Regions from separate parts of the Homo sapiens genome. Here regions 1 and 3 are each linked to region 2. Evidence: promoter capture Hi-C in human tissues and cell types (Jung and others, 2019). All regions are on one chromosome and are shown on one strand. The core of a region is centred on a gene start or on the middle of the fragment in contact, and the rest is flanking DNA. Distances in the headings are between cores, read along the strand shown.

What was found. Contacts are between HindIII fragments. The study calls those that stand out against the background at their distance.
Region 1: a contact is called between a fragment that was not itself captured here and the fragment with the promoter of MYLK in region 2, in 4 of the 25 tissues and cell types used here (bladder, heart left ventricle, liver and 1 more).
Region 3: a contact is called between a fragment that was not itself captured here and the fragment with the promoter of MYLK in region 2, in 2 of the 25 tissues and cell types used here (aorta and mesenchymal stem cells).

What each region holds. Positions count from the first base shown.
Region 1 is chr3:123,811,152-123,815,527 of GRCh38, forward strand. All of the region lies in intron 3 of MYLK (myosin light chain kinase), which reads right to left. LOC124906346 (small nucleolar RNA SNORA5) reads left to right here and starts at 2,926; the gene lies at 2,926-3,056. The HindIII fragment of the contact is 3,385 bases long and covers 1-3,116 here.
Region 2 is chr3:123,881,939-123,886,365 of GRCh38, forward strand. MYLK (myosin light chain kinase) reads right to left here and starts at 2,394. Exons shown (of 34, transcript NM_053025.4): 1 at 2,268-2,394. It also overlaps a transcript of CCDC14 not described here. RefSeq lists a silencer at 2,274-2,433. The HindIII fragment of the contact is 8,771 bases long and covers 1-4,427 here.
Region 3 is chr3:123,947,562-123,952,388 of GRCh38, forward strand. It overlaps CCDC14 (coiled-coil domain containing 14), which reads right to left. Exons shown (of 13, transcript NM_001366335.1): 6 at 1,335-1,571; 7 at 1,130-1,224. Among named protein-coding and RNA genes, the nearest start is that of CCDC14, 11 kb to the right of the region's middle. The HindIII fragment of the contact is 5,352 bases long and covers 850-4,827 here.

The DNA.
Region 1 (4,376 bases), core at 174-2,673, 72 kb before region 2:
GGTGTCAGCTCAGCTGGTTTCCAGTGGAGAGGAGAAAGTGCGTGTCCCCTCTCAACCCTTTCTGAAACAGGGAGCCATTTGCACTCGGGGTGAGGGAGCCCTTCCACACAGGATCCTCCATCAGCTGCAAGGGGGAAGTACAGGCAAATGCAGGGCCAACAGGGAGATCAATGGACCACCATCAGCTATTAGCTGCACTCATACCTGGCTCAGGGATCATGGGCCTTGAGGATATGAGGCTCAACTTCCAATAGGGAATTTGGAATCCTATTGGAGAAAACAGATTATCAAAGAGAAAAATAGAGCCCCAGGAGCCAGGAAAGTGGGATGGAAAATTAAAAAGCTAATGGGGCATTGACCTGTTCAAAGGCCCTAAAACCCTTCATGCTTGTCTACTCCTGAACTTGAAATTCCACACCCTACCGGGGACACTGTGCTAAACAAAGGCAGCAGTTCATTTTTTTTAGCATTCAGCCTGGAGTGCCTAGCATTTATTGAGTGTTAGATGCTCTCTCTCGCCAACAGTAACAAGATTGGTATAGTGCTCTGAAGAGCAGTATGTTGTTTATCATCCCTGTAAAGCTTTGAAACGGCAATTCTAGTGCCAGAACATTTTCTTTCAAGCAATTTAGGTAAGCTTCTACCTGGTGGACACAGCAGCCAGCCAGCTAGGCCCCTCCAGGTGTGATTGATTAGGCCAGAAAGCAGTACTTCACATACTTATTTGTATCATTTTTCTATAAAAACATATCTATTAAATTAACAATTCACTTCTAACTACTAACCCCCATTTCTAACAGTTATATAACATTGAACAGAATGCTATCACCTGGAGCTTTTATCATTAACGCTCAATATAAAGAATCCATTTTTAATCTCACTCTGGTTTTTTGTCATTACCCAATATGGAACTGTTCTTAGAGAAAGCAGACCCCTGGGACTTCTCAGAGTCAGCGATAGAGATTCAGGACGCCTACACTGAAGAACTCTTGCCCCCCAGTTCTGTTCCCCCTCATACCTATTAGTCAGGGCTGGGTTCTATCACCTTAATGGCTTCATCCCGCTCTGCTTCTGGGCTCAAGAGAAAAACTGAATTCATTATTGACAGCACCTGTTCCTTGTGATGTAAGCTTAAACCAAATGAGGGGCGGTCAGAACCAACTTGCTTACACCTGTTTCAGTTTAAGACTTTGCAGTGGTACTTTCTCCCCCACTGAAAGTCAGGTTTCCCCACCCAACCTCTCTAGGAAGCTATGGTTTGACATTAGCCCATGCTTGCTCAGGTGTCCTCTCCACAGATCCCGGCCAATTCCATATCTAGCCTGGCCTCTAAAGCAGAGCGTTCTCTCTTGAGTGAGACAGTGGTTTCCCCTTATCTCTTAACTAGAGACTTAAAACAGTGTCCAGGTGCCAAAAGGTAATTTCTTGCTTAAGTCCAGGAAAAGCCAGAGTTTGCCCCAACACTTGTCACCTGTGTCCCTCAACCAACCAACTGAACAAAACATCTATGAAAGACCTAGATGTCTCTTTACTTTGGAAATCCCTGATGCAGGGCCAACTGTTAATCTGTTTGTTCACACATCCAGTCAGCTGTGCCTGTCACGGCTTCTCCGTTGACTGGGGGCCCCACTGAGCTGAGGCTGTCTGTGAGGAGATACTTTGTGAAGGTCTTTACCTCCTGTTTCGCAGTGCTCCCAAGATGTCCAGCCAGGCATATTGGGGCACTCAGGGTCACACCAATTCTCCTGTGGGCACAGGGAAGGGGGCCTTCTCCACAATCCCACCCCACTTTTCTTGCAAGATGAACCTAGGCTTGGCTCCCAGGCTAGATCACTGATGGTCAACTTGGCAGTCTGCTCAGTAATGGGGTTCCCAAAAAACGTGCCTTGACAGAGCCGATAGAAGAAAGGGCAGACAGCAGGAAGTAAACAGAGCCCACTCAGGCCAAGTCCCTATCTGCTTAAAGTTATCATCCTCTACCATTTGAACTGATTTTTGCACTAGCCATACCAGGGCTTTTTCATGAAAAGTCAAGAACTTGCTAATGCTAAAAGGTTGCAAATAGGGGAAGGTTCAGCTGGCAAATTATTTACCCTTACTTAAGCTTCTGCTTATTGAGATTTTAATGGTCATGTACCAGGTTTGTGGGATGGGGGAGGAAGACTGCAAGGGGAAAAGGAGCTCTTGGGTCAAAGTTAAATATGAATTCTAGCCACATGCTGGGGCAGCTTGGGAATAATTACCTTGGTTATCTTAATCAGGATAGACAGCAGAACTGTATTCATCTACAACACCTGGGCCACTTCTCCATCAGGCTGGGCCCACCTCTGCGTCAGGGAATCTTAATTCACTGTCTCTCTCTCTCTTTTTTTTTTTTGAGATGGAGTCTCGCTCTGTTGCCCAGGCTGGAATGCAGTGACGTGATCTCAGCTCACTGCAACCTCTGCCTCCCGGGTTCAAGCGATTCTCCTGCCTCAGCCTCCCGAGTTGCTGGGATTACAGACATGTGCGACCACGCCTGACTAATTTTTGTATTTTTAGTAGAGACGGGGTTTCACCATGTTGGCCAGGCTGGGCTCGAACTCCCAACCTCAAGCAATCTGCCTGCCTTAGCCTCCCAAAGTGCTGGGATTACAGGCATGAGCCACCATGCCCGGACAATTCACGGCCTCTTAAGCACTAGAGGCAACCAGCAGAGCAACTGTCATCAACCCAGAATGTCCTCCAACCTCCTTTTCAATAATTAGGGTGACCACATAACATATTATCCAAATGAGAGCTCTTGAGAATGGAAAGGGCTCTTTGAATACTCATGCTGGGACTATTCAGGGGAGCCGGGCTATACATAAGGCCACCTCTACCCTAATCACTCCCATGTCTCCCTAAGTCTAGACACAAGACATGACTTCAAAGATATCTTCCCCATGCAGCTGTGTCAAATTTGGTGCCTGCCCTGCCTGTGTAGGCACTGACCCAGAAGGCTGCCACAGAAACACTGACTCATGGGCCCTGTTCCTGTGTCTCGGGCTCAGGGATAAATTTGGTTACAGATACCAAGCCTCTAGAAAAACAAAAGACAAAGGTATCTTCCCCGGCCACATTCACCCTATTCCGGCCAAGCTCAGGCTTCATGTCCCCTCTGTCCAGGAACCTGTTATTTCACACTCCGGGTTATTTTGGACATGTTCTCATAGCTGTCCTTACTCCTTTGCTAGACAGACAGTGTCTTGGTTTCTGACTCTTTACAGGAATGTTGAACTCACCCGAGTTCCCTTGTCTCATCATCTTTTGTCATTCATAAACAAATAAACAATATTGGCTAAAAGTTTGGTCGTGAGTACGATTACAAATGACTTTTCCCCCAATATAAATACTATAATTTTCTGTAATATTTTTCCAATCTGTTTCTATGTATGTACTTTTAAAAATAAAATTATATATACAAATTATCATTGCCTTCATTTTTCATGCTTTTCCTCAGATATGGAACACTCTTCATAAATCTTATTTTCAGTGACTGTATCATATTCTAGCAAGTAGACAAGCCAAAACTTAATGATGCCCCTGTTATTTACTATTTAGGTTGCTTCCAATTTCATTAAAACAAACAGTTTCATGGACATAAACTGATCCTTTCTTTCTTTCTTTCTTTCTTTTTTTAGATGGAGTCTCATTCTGTTACCCAGGCTGGAGTACAGCGGCATGATCTCGGCTCACTGCAACCTCCACCTCCCAGGTTCAAGCAAGTCTCCTGTCTCAGCCTCCCGAGTAGCTAGGACTACAGGCACCTGACACCATGCCTGGCTAATTTTTGTATTTTTAGTAGAGACAGGGTTTCACCTTGTTGGTCAGGCTGGTCTTGAACTCCTGACCTCAGGTGATTCACCCACCTTGGCCTCCCAAAGCACTGGGATTACAGGCATGAGCCACCACACCTGGCCCCTTTATTTCCATAATAATCCTTTAGATTATTTCCCCAAGATACATTTCAAGAACTTCAATTACTGAGTCAGAGTGCATGGGATTTTATGGCTCTTGCATCCAGGTCCTCTTGATTCCTGTCAACTTGCCTGGTGCTGACTTGTGGCTCCCCAGTATTTTACTCTCCTGCCTCAGCCTCCGTTTAAGCTTGTTCTTCTTGATCTGGTGCCAGAATTCAGGCAAGTATCAGGTCCAGGGATTCCTACATGGTTTGAAGGGATGTACACTTAGATACCCAACCAAGTTAGGCAAGCCTTGGGAAGTGAGGCAAGTATTGAGTAAGACAGAAAAGGATCCAAGCTTCGAGAAGTCGTGAAGTTCAAAACGATTGCTATCAAGCAAAACATGAGGCTTCTGCCCTCTCCAGTATAATCCTGCCAGTGGGGGCAGCTCTG
Region 2 (4,427 bases), core at 1,144-3,643:
GCCAGGAGCCCCTCCTCTGCAGTGACTGTAGCTGTCTGTCTACCATTTTCAGGCAGCAGGTGGGGCCACCTGGCCTTACCAGTTAGCCTAGGAATGTTCCAAGGCCTAGTCTGCTCTGCATATGTTTTCTAAGATCTGGCCCCTGGGGAAGCAGCCCCTGATGAAGGGGTGAGCAAACCTCACACAAACAGCAACTACTCTGGCTGGGTGCAGTGGCTCATGCCTGTAACCCAGCACTTTGGGAGGCAGAGGTGGGCGATCACTTGAGCCCATTAGACTAGTATGGACAACATGGTAGGACCCCATCTCTACAAAAAATCCAAAAAACTAGCCAGGTGTGGTGGCACACACCTGTAGTCCCTGCTACTCAGGAGGCTGAGGTGGAGGATTCCTTGAGCCTGGTAGGTCAAGGTTGCAGTGAGCTGAGATCACGCCACTGTACTCCAGCCTGGGCAACAGAGCCAGACCCTGTCTCAAAATAAAAAATAAAAATAAAAATAAGACAAGGAAACATCTACAATGCTGCAGCTACCCTCCTCCTCAGCTAGCCAGTTATTACACAAAAGAAACTGAACATGGGAGATAAACCAGCATAAATGCTTCCCCACTGTGGGGTGGTTCTCCAAGCTCATGCTTAGCTGCAAATGAGGTCCAGCATCCTTTGTATCATCAGTGAACAATGAGACAGACCTGCACATCTTGGCAAAAAAAGCTCTTGTGCATGTCCCCAGAGTACCCGCTACCCAATCCAGCATCCAGAGTCCAACCACTCCGGACCCAGGACCAACTGCTCAGGTTCCTCCCAGACCCAAGGCTCCTGGCCCACTGAGAGTGGGAGAAAAAGGGGTAACCTCACTCTGGGCAGGAAGGAAAATTCCATGCTGCCCTAGAGCACTGTGGTGCCAGCAGCATCATCCTCCACAGTCCCACAGTGTGCAGGCGGGGAAGAGACTAAGAGAATCACGGAAGAGAGAAGGAGGTCAAGAATTTAAGAGAAAAGAAAACAGTTCTATTAGAACCCTAAATGCCTTGTAGGAACCTAGTAAAGTCACCAGATGCACCTACACTTCTCCCAGAGACTTGCATTGTTGATTCCTGATTCTTTGAAGTGTGGGCGGGGTTCCCCAAATGGTCCTCCTAAGCCCACCATCTGGAAATAATTTATTGATAAGTGCATTTTGACAAAAAGTATTCCATTCAGGTGGAGAAGAACACAGCCTCTCTTGGAAGGGGGATGCAGCTCCAGGGCAGGCTCTCAAAGGCTGTGGGGTGGGCGGGTCATTGCATATACTCTGGTCTTTGCACTTGGGGAGAGGAGGGATGGTAAAAACCAACGGCCTGAGGTCTGGCATCATGCCCACTGCCCAGGTGTTTCCCTACACCCACCCAGCTCCCTGAATCACAACAGCTAATTTTACTCCCTCTAGACTCTAGTAGAGCTGGGTCTTCTCCTTCTGGCTACGAAATAGAAAGTGCCCCGCACCCCAACACACACACCCCAATCTAAAAAAAATATATATCCTTGAAACCATTTCCCCATCAGCCCATCTTCACATCTGCAATGCCACTCCTAGAAATTCAGTCCTTTGGGTCTTGAAGGGTTTTAGTTCCATAAGTTCCAGGGAGGGGTCTACCTCAACCATTGACAACTCACATCTCCTGAGAAGTTTATCCAAAACTTTCCAACTGCAATCATCGGCGAACAAGGTCCCTCAACAATGGGACCCCAGTTAACGCGAAGGAGGCAGAGCGAGGTAAGGAGCTTAAATGAGGAGTATGGAGTAGGAACAAGTCTGCAAAGCCCGCGCCCCAGCTTCGCCTGGGATGGCCAGGTCTGGCACTCGCGGGCCGCCTTCCCCGCCCTACCTTCCCGGAATCACATTTGGGCTGGAAGGACCTTCACGTGGCACCCCCTTCCCAGAGGCCGTCACCGAGTCCTCTAGCGAGGGTCTGGGAGCTGGGAGAAGGGTCCGCTTCTCCTCCGCCCCTCAAATCAAAGGCACCCCCTTCGGATGATTCCTAGAAAGGCAATCGCATCAGTGTCCCCAAGCACTTCATCTCCCCAAAAGAAAACTCGTGCAGCCTGGCGTCACTGGGGTCGTCTCCTTACGCCCCTGACTCCTCGCCGCACCCCGGGGCCCCTCTCCATTAGGGGAGTCGGGAGGCACAGACGGTGGGGGTCCCAGCCCCCACCCAGAACTCCCACCCTCGGAGCCTTGACTTCCAGGGCCCGCGCCTGGACAAAAGCATGGGGCGGGCTCACTCACCCGCGCGGCGAAGGCGGCCCGGGAGCCGGGGCACCGGCGCTCGGCGGGGCGCCCCGGCCGCAGGCGCACAGCGCGGGCTCCGAGCTCGCTCAGCGCCCTGCTGCCGACCGGGCGGCGCGGGGAGCCCGCGAGGCGCGTCCGGGACTGGGCAGGGCGGGGCGGGGCGGGGCGGGGCGGGGGTGAGCGAACCGGCGAGAGAGAGAGCAAGTGGGAGAGCGGAGAGCGGACGCGCGCTGAGGAGAGCGAGTGAGAGCGCGGCGCTACGGGGTCAGGACTCAAACCACCCGCTCCAGCCCCCATGCACTGATTTGCATGACATTTGCATAGCGCTCGGGGAGTGGACCTGCTGCCCTTCCCGCCACGCCCACCCGCCTTCTGCCTCGGAGTCCGGAGCGGAGAATCCGCAGCCAAACCTAGCGCCAGACCCGGGCCCCCCTCGCACTTATCCTGCACCGCCCCAGTTAACTCCTCGCAGGCGGCGGTCAGCGGGCTGGTACTGTCTTGGTGCGTGTCTTAGTCCTACACTGGGAGACCTAGGCCTTAGGTCGGGGTCTGATGCTAGCTTCGTGAGCGTGCATGAGACACTGGCTGCCTCTGGGCCTCAGTTTTCTAATCTGTAAAATGAAGATGTCAGCGGAACCATGGGGCTAAAGTTTTAGTGCTGGAAGGTTGTCTATGTAGTTTTTTTCAGACATCCTCCAGTGGTGCAACTCAGCCCCATGGTTCCTCTGACATCCTCCCTTTGTGTGTGTTAAGAATCTCTCATTGGTTTGGAAGATACCTACAAAGTTCTTTAAATTAAAAAAGGGGAAAGGGGAGGGGGGGGAGGGGAGGGGGAGGAGGTGTTTCTGGTTTTGGCTTGCTTTATATTTAGTTTGCACCCAATATGAAATATTTTATAGCTTCTGATCTCTTCACTTGGACCTTCTTTTGTTTTTTTTAAAAAAACTGTTTACTGCAGGTTAAGGAGTGTTTTTAAAAATTTTTTAATTGTAAAATAAAACATAAATACAGAAAACCACAAAAAACAAATATATAGATATATAGACTAGTGAATTATTATAAAGGGAACATCCTTGTAATCACCACCTGGATCAAGAAATAGAACTCTGCCAGCCACCCCAGGAGCCTCTCCATGTGCCCTACCTCAATGACAACCCCCTTTCTCCCTCCTCCCAAAAGTAACCACTAACCTGACTTTCATGTAGTCACTTCTGCTGCTTTTGTTTTTCTTGGTATCTTCCAAGGGTGCACCTTACCCCTCCCCCCACTCTTTTTTTTTTTAATTTGATTTGCCTTTTCAGTCTTTTCCTTACAATTATTTGTTAAATAACTTAAGCCCTTGATCTGTGAGGTTTTCCAGAGTCTGGGGGTTGCACATTCATGAGGCAATTCAGCATGTTTCTCTGTCCTCTGTATTGACAGCAAGTTGGCAGCTGATCCAGGGTCTTCCTCAGACTGAAGTTTGATGTCTTTTGTAAGATTATAGATGGTTGTGTGTTCTTTTCTTCAAGAGGTACATGATCATGATGTCTGGTGTTTGCTCTTTTTTGAGGTTAACAGCCGTCGATGCTCAATTCCTAGATTCATTAATTAATTGAAGTTTGCAAAATCATGGTATTCTAATAATTTTGTTTTCATTTATTAGTTCATAAGTGGATAAGGAGATGCTTCCTCTCATCTACTATTTGATTACCCTGAGATAGGAAAGGCACGATGAATACCTGCTTTTTTTTAAAAAAATTACCCAGTTTTCAAGTTAAGGAATTGATTCTCTGTCATTCTTAGATTTCTTTAATATCATTATAAATTCATGAATTTAAATATATTTGATAGGTTTCCATCTACGATATTAGAGCTCAAATTGTCCCATCTTTGGCCAGTAGGAGCTTCTTCAATATGGCTCCTGGCTCCTTTTGATAAGATTCTAGTAGTCTTTTTTTTTTTCTCTCTCTCTCTCTCTCACTAGTGTGCAAAGAGCTTCAAAGACCCTAGAAGTCTTTGATAGCTTCCTTGCTATCTGATATGACAAGATGTTCCAGGCACATCTGTACATTTGCTGCCTCAAACCTGGAATCAGCCATTTCTCCAAGAAGCTCTAGTTTTTTTGTTTTTTCTTTCCTTCCTTCCTTCTCTCTCTCTTTTTCTTTCTTTTTTTCT
Region 3 (4,827 bases), core at 2,276-4,775, 67 kb after region 2:
ATATGTTTGTGCAAAAACTTTTTGTATGTTTAAACTTATTTTCTTATGATGTAATTTCCCAAAGTGGACTAATTTTTGATGCTTTTAAACCATCTGTGGTATTTGTAAACAGTCTATTTTAGTCATGGCCTTGTAATGCTCCCATATTACAGGGTAAATTAAGCTTTAAAAAACAAGAATCTTTATTGCACTGAGGAAAAAAATCCAACTTACTTTTAAGCTAAAAATATTAGTAAGTTTCTGATATTAAAAACTTGCTTATTAATAATAATATTAATTATAAGAAACTCAAATATATGGTTACTACTCCTAACCATATAGTAGTTACACAGACTATGGTATATCCAAAAAATACAGTATTAACAAGTTATTAAAAATTCAAAGGGTATATATTAATAAACATGTTTTTAATAAAGTATTAAGTGAAAGCAGCAGTATATAAGACTGTATTGTTGACTTATAACTTTATTTTAAAAGGAAAGCAAATGTTAACAAATACAAACCAGAAACTAAAACCTATACAGAGGATTAAACGATTGGAAAGAACTCTATCAGTGTGTCAACAGCAGTTGTACTTGGGTGGTCAGTATGGTTGATTTTTTTCCTCCTACTGATCTCTTCCCCTCTTTCTCCTTCATTATTGTCATTAATAAATAGGTAAAACTTTTCTTTCTTTTCTTTTTTTTTTTTTTTGAGATAGAGTCTCACTCTGTAGCCCAGGCTGGAGTGCAGTGGCGCGATCTCACTCACTGCTACCTCTGCCTCCTGGGTCCCGGTTCAAGTAATTCTCCTGCCTCAGCCTCCCGAGTAGCTGGGATTACAGGCATGTGCCACCATGCCCAGCTAATTTCTGTATTTTTCGTAGAGGTGGGGTTTCACCATGTTGGCCAGGCTGGTCTTGAACTCCAGACCTCGTGATCCACCCACCTCGGCCTCCCAAAGTGCCGGGATTACAGGCGTTTAGCCACGGCGCTCGGCCATAAACATGTAAAACTTTTATAGCAAAAAAAAATAAACAACTGGTCTTTAAATCCTAGTGCATTAAGTTATAAGCAATAAATTCAACAGTCCCTCCTGAATGACTGCTATAAGCAAATAGTTACTTATGTAGTATAAGAACTGTACGCACAGAATGAACCTTTGGAGGGCAGGGTGGCCGCTGAAGTGACCAGACTGGGGTGGAGGTACATAAGCCATAACTAGAATGAGGAGTTGCCTGAGATTCTGTAAGTAAGAGGGAGAAAAAATTAATCACATATCCTACTTTTTATACAGTAACCAAGCAATTTAATTAGAACTTACACTCACGATTTTTAAACAGCATTCGTACTCACCAGAATGAGAGGGAGCATGGCATGGTACAGCAGGAATTCCATTAGGGATGTTCTTTGAAGTCAAGTCATTCATCAGTGACATCTGAGTCTGCACGTGCTCACAGAGGGCTTGGTATATTATGGGTGAATACATTCTATAATGATCTTGCAATGACCAGTTTTGCTCTAGGTCTGATGTGTCTCTTTCACTTCTAGCAGAAGCTTCATTAGGTATCTGTTTCTTATTATCTGAAGATGCTAATGTGGAAGAAGAAAAAAGTTCTTGAAATATGATTCTTCAAAAACTTTTACCGTAAGATTTTAAGAGAAGAAAGGGCTCTCAGAAGTAGTCCAATCCATCACATACTTCATAGAAGGGCTTTACCACTATCACCCCTACTAAAGAAAATCATCTCAAATTCTTTCTGAAAGTAATTAGTGTTTAAGTTTCCCCAGTCAAAAATCATCTATACTAATTCTTTACAATTCCCATTTTTTATGCTACTTGCCATTTGTAAAATCTCTCCTTCATTTTAACACTTCTTTTAAGGGAGTTATATTATCCCTAAAGTCCAGTCAAACTCCTTCACCTTGTTCCTTGTCAGTTCATGTTCTCAAGGGAAAATGCAATAGGAAAGAGAATAGTTTGTACAATTCTGATGCTTTGGGTCCTCAAAAACAAAACAAAACAAAACCAACCAAACAAACAAAATCTTGGCCTGGCATTTAAAGTTTCCAAAGCTTGACCACAAGCTACTTTTCCAACTATCGCCCCATCACTCCCAACTCCAATTTTTCATTTCAGGCAGGCCAATTTAGTTACCCAACAAGCTTTTCTCACCTTCCAATAACATTGTTCATGAACCATTCCTACCAATCCAATTCTACCCACTCACCAAGGCTCATCTGAGTTTTCTTCTTCCATGAAGCCTTTTCCAATCCAATCATTCCAGTCTAGTGACTACTCTTCACCACCCTAGAGCACATATTGTCTATAGAAATCATATGCCACTGACACACTGCCTTATATTGCTTATCTTTCATCCTCCTGCCTTTCTGACTAAACCACAAGTTTCTCTAAGCAGGGCTGTACTTCATTGTTTTCTCTTACAGAACCTAGTATTAGTCTATGAACAAGGTAGAAATCGGTATTAACAAAGTAATAAGTAAAAAACAACAAAGTTTTCTACATAGCACTACCTATAGATTGGTATAACAATCTGAATACTATTTCCCTAATTAGGTCCCCTTCCCAAAGGTTTTTTAAAACACTATTAACAGAAATGAAAATATTCTGGTAAATCATAGGTTATCAGTATACAAAATAAATTTAGAAAAATATATGGATATTTGTCACACCTACCAAAGCTAAACGTACATATATTCTATGAAATAACAATTCCACTCCCAGGTATACACCAATAGAAATGAGTGCTTATGTCTACTGAAAGACATGTGCAAGAATGTTCACAGCAGCTTGATTTGCAGTAGCCCAAAGCTGAAAACACCAAATAGCCATGAATAGCAGAAATGGATAAACTGTGGTATACTCGCAGGCTGGAATACTATACAGCATTAAAAAACCAACAAAGTACTGATATATACAACTACCTGGATGTTTAATACACTTAAGGCTGACTGAAAGTGGTCAAACACAAGGGCGCACAGTGTTCAATCACATTTATAGGAAGTCATCAAACAGGTAAAAGTCACAAATGGAAACAGATGTCAGGAAAATGGTTACACAGGGATGAGGGTCTAGGTGATGGTGAGGGTACTGACAGGGAGGGAGCCTCGCAGGGTGCTAAAAATTGTCTGTATCTTGATCTAGGTGGTGGCTACAGGGGTGTATACGTATGCAAAAATTTATTGAGATTTATGTACTTTAAAATTATTTATGAGAAGTATTCCTTAATTTTTTAAAAAACAAAATAATTAAAAATTTAAAAGTAGAGAATCCCTCAAATATAGTTTATTGAAAATAAAAATATTACTAAAAGTGTAAAACTTCCATGTAAAAGCAAAAACAGAAAAAGTTAAAGGCAGATTTAATACTATAACCAGTGAAAATAGAAAAAAAATTTAAAGAAAAAGACAATATTTGACTACGAAAATGGCTGAAGATATCAGATGCTTCCCTTTTGACTTGGGGTATGCTTCCTTTTCAGATGATCTACTCCTATAAATGTACTTTCCAGACCTAAATACAAGCTTTAACACTTATTAGCTGAGTAACCTTGCGCAAATTAACTTCTCTTGACCTGTTTTTCCTCATCAGAAAAATTTTAATAATGCCTATTTTATAAGATTATTGAGAGATGTAAATGACGTAACACTTGTAAATTTCTTAAAGCAATGTCTACCACACAGTAAAAACTCAATGTTAAATATCACCAAATAGCTGCACTCTTACAATAGACAAGTAAATATATCATATTCATAAATCATACTATCTGATGTCAGTAATAAACCTCTGAACATGTCCCCTCTGAGATGATTAAAATCAAAAGTAATAAGAGTTACCTTCACTATCTGATCAGCTCAAACAAAACTGGTTAATAAACTTTTGTAAAGCAAATACTATTTCTTACCAGAAATACAATTTTATAATAAATCAAATGGAAAAGTGCCCTCTAAAATATTTTAACTTTGAAATCTAAAATGATAGAGGGTGAGATCATAGCCCATGGCCATCTAGCATACCACAAGTCCTTTCCTCTTGATTCCTGGGTCTTTCCTTCTGCTCTTGGATTTCCTCTGGTCCTTAAGAATTGGCTAGTTTGAAGAATTCTCAGATTTCACACACAGGTCACAGCATCAGGCTCTCATTTACTTTCTTTTCAAGGCGTGGTTTTCACAGTTTCTAATAAAGCTGAGCTACATTATGCCTCAGCCAGCAGATGTCATCAACTAACATAAATTAATAAATTCCAAACCTATTTCTTCAAAATCAAAGCCTTAGAACTAAAATGACATATTCTGCTCCTTTATAAACTCAGTCCACACAAATCTCTACGGATAATGTTGAGTAACTTTACTTAACGATATGAAGTCTTAAAGCAAACAATCCAAGACAAGTTAGAAACCATAAGGGAAGGACTGCAGTTATATGACTACTACACAGTTTTAAAATAAAACAAACCAATGATCAAATGAGCCTGTTACTACACAAATACAAATGAAGTATATTTTCTTGCTCTTGTTAATTACACCAACGCACTCTACATGAAAATTTTAGCTATTGGTCTGGCAATGTTTAAGTGATGTCAGGTGATAACTAGAATTCATGAAAGGAAAGTATTCATTTACTCAGTCCACAAAACTTTTTCAGTCCCTGAAGTCTAGCTGCTGTGCAAGCACTGTCTGACAGGAAGTTATTCCTGCCACTCGAATATAGAACAAACATCCAGTGCAGGTAAGAGCCACTAGATGCCTACTATAATTTGAAATACGTAAGAACACCTGGCCTTTATGAGTGGCAATCAATGCTCAAAGGATTTTTGCCTGTGGTTGG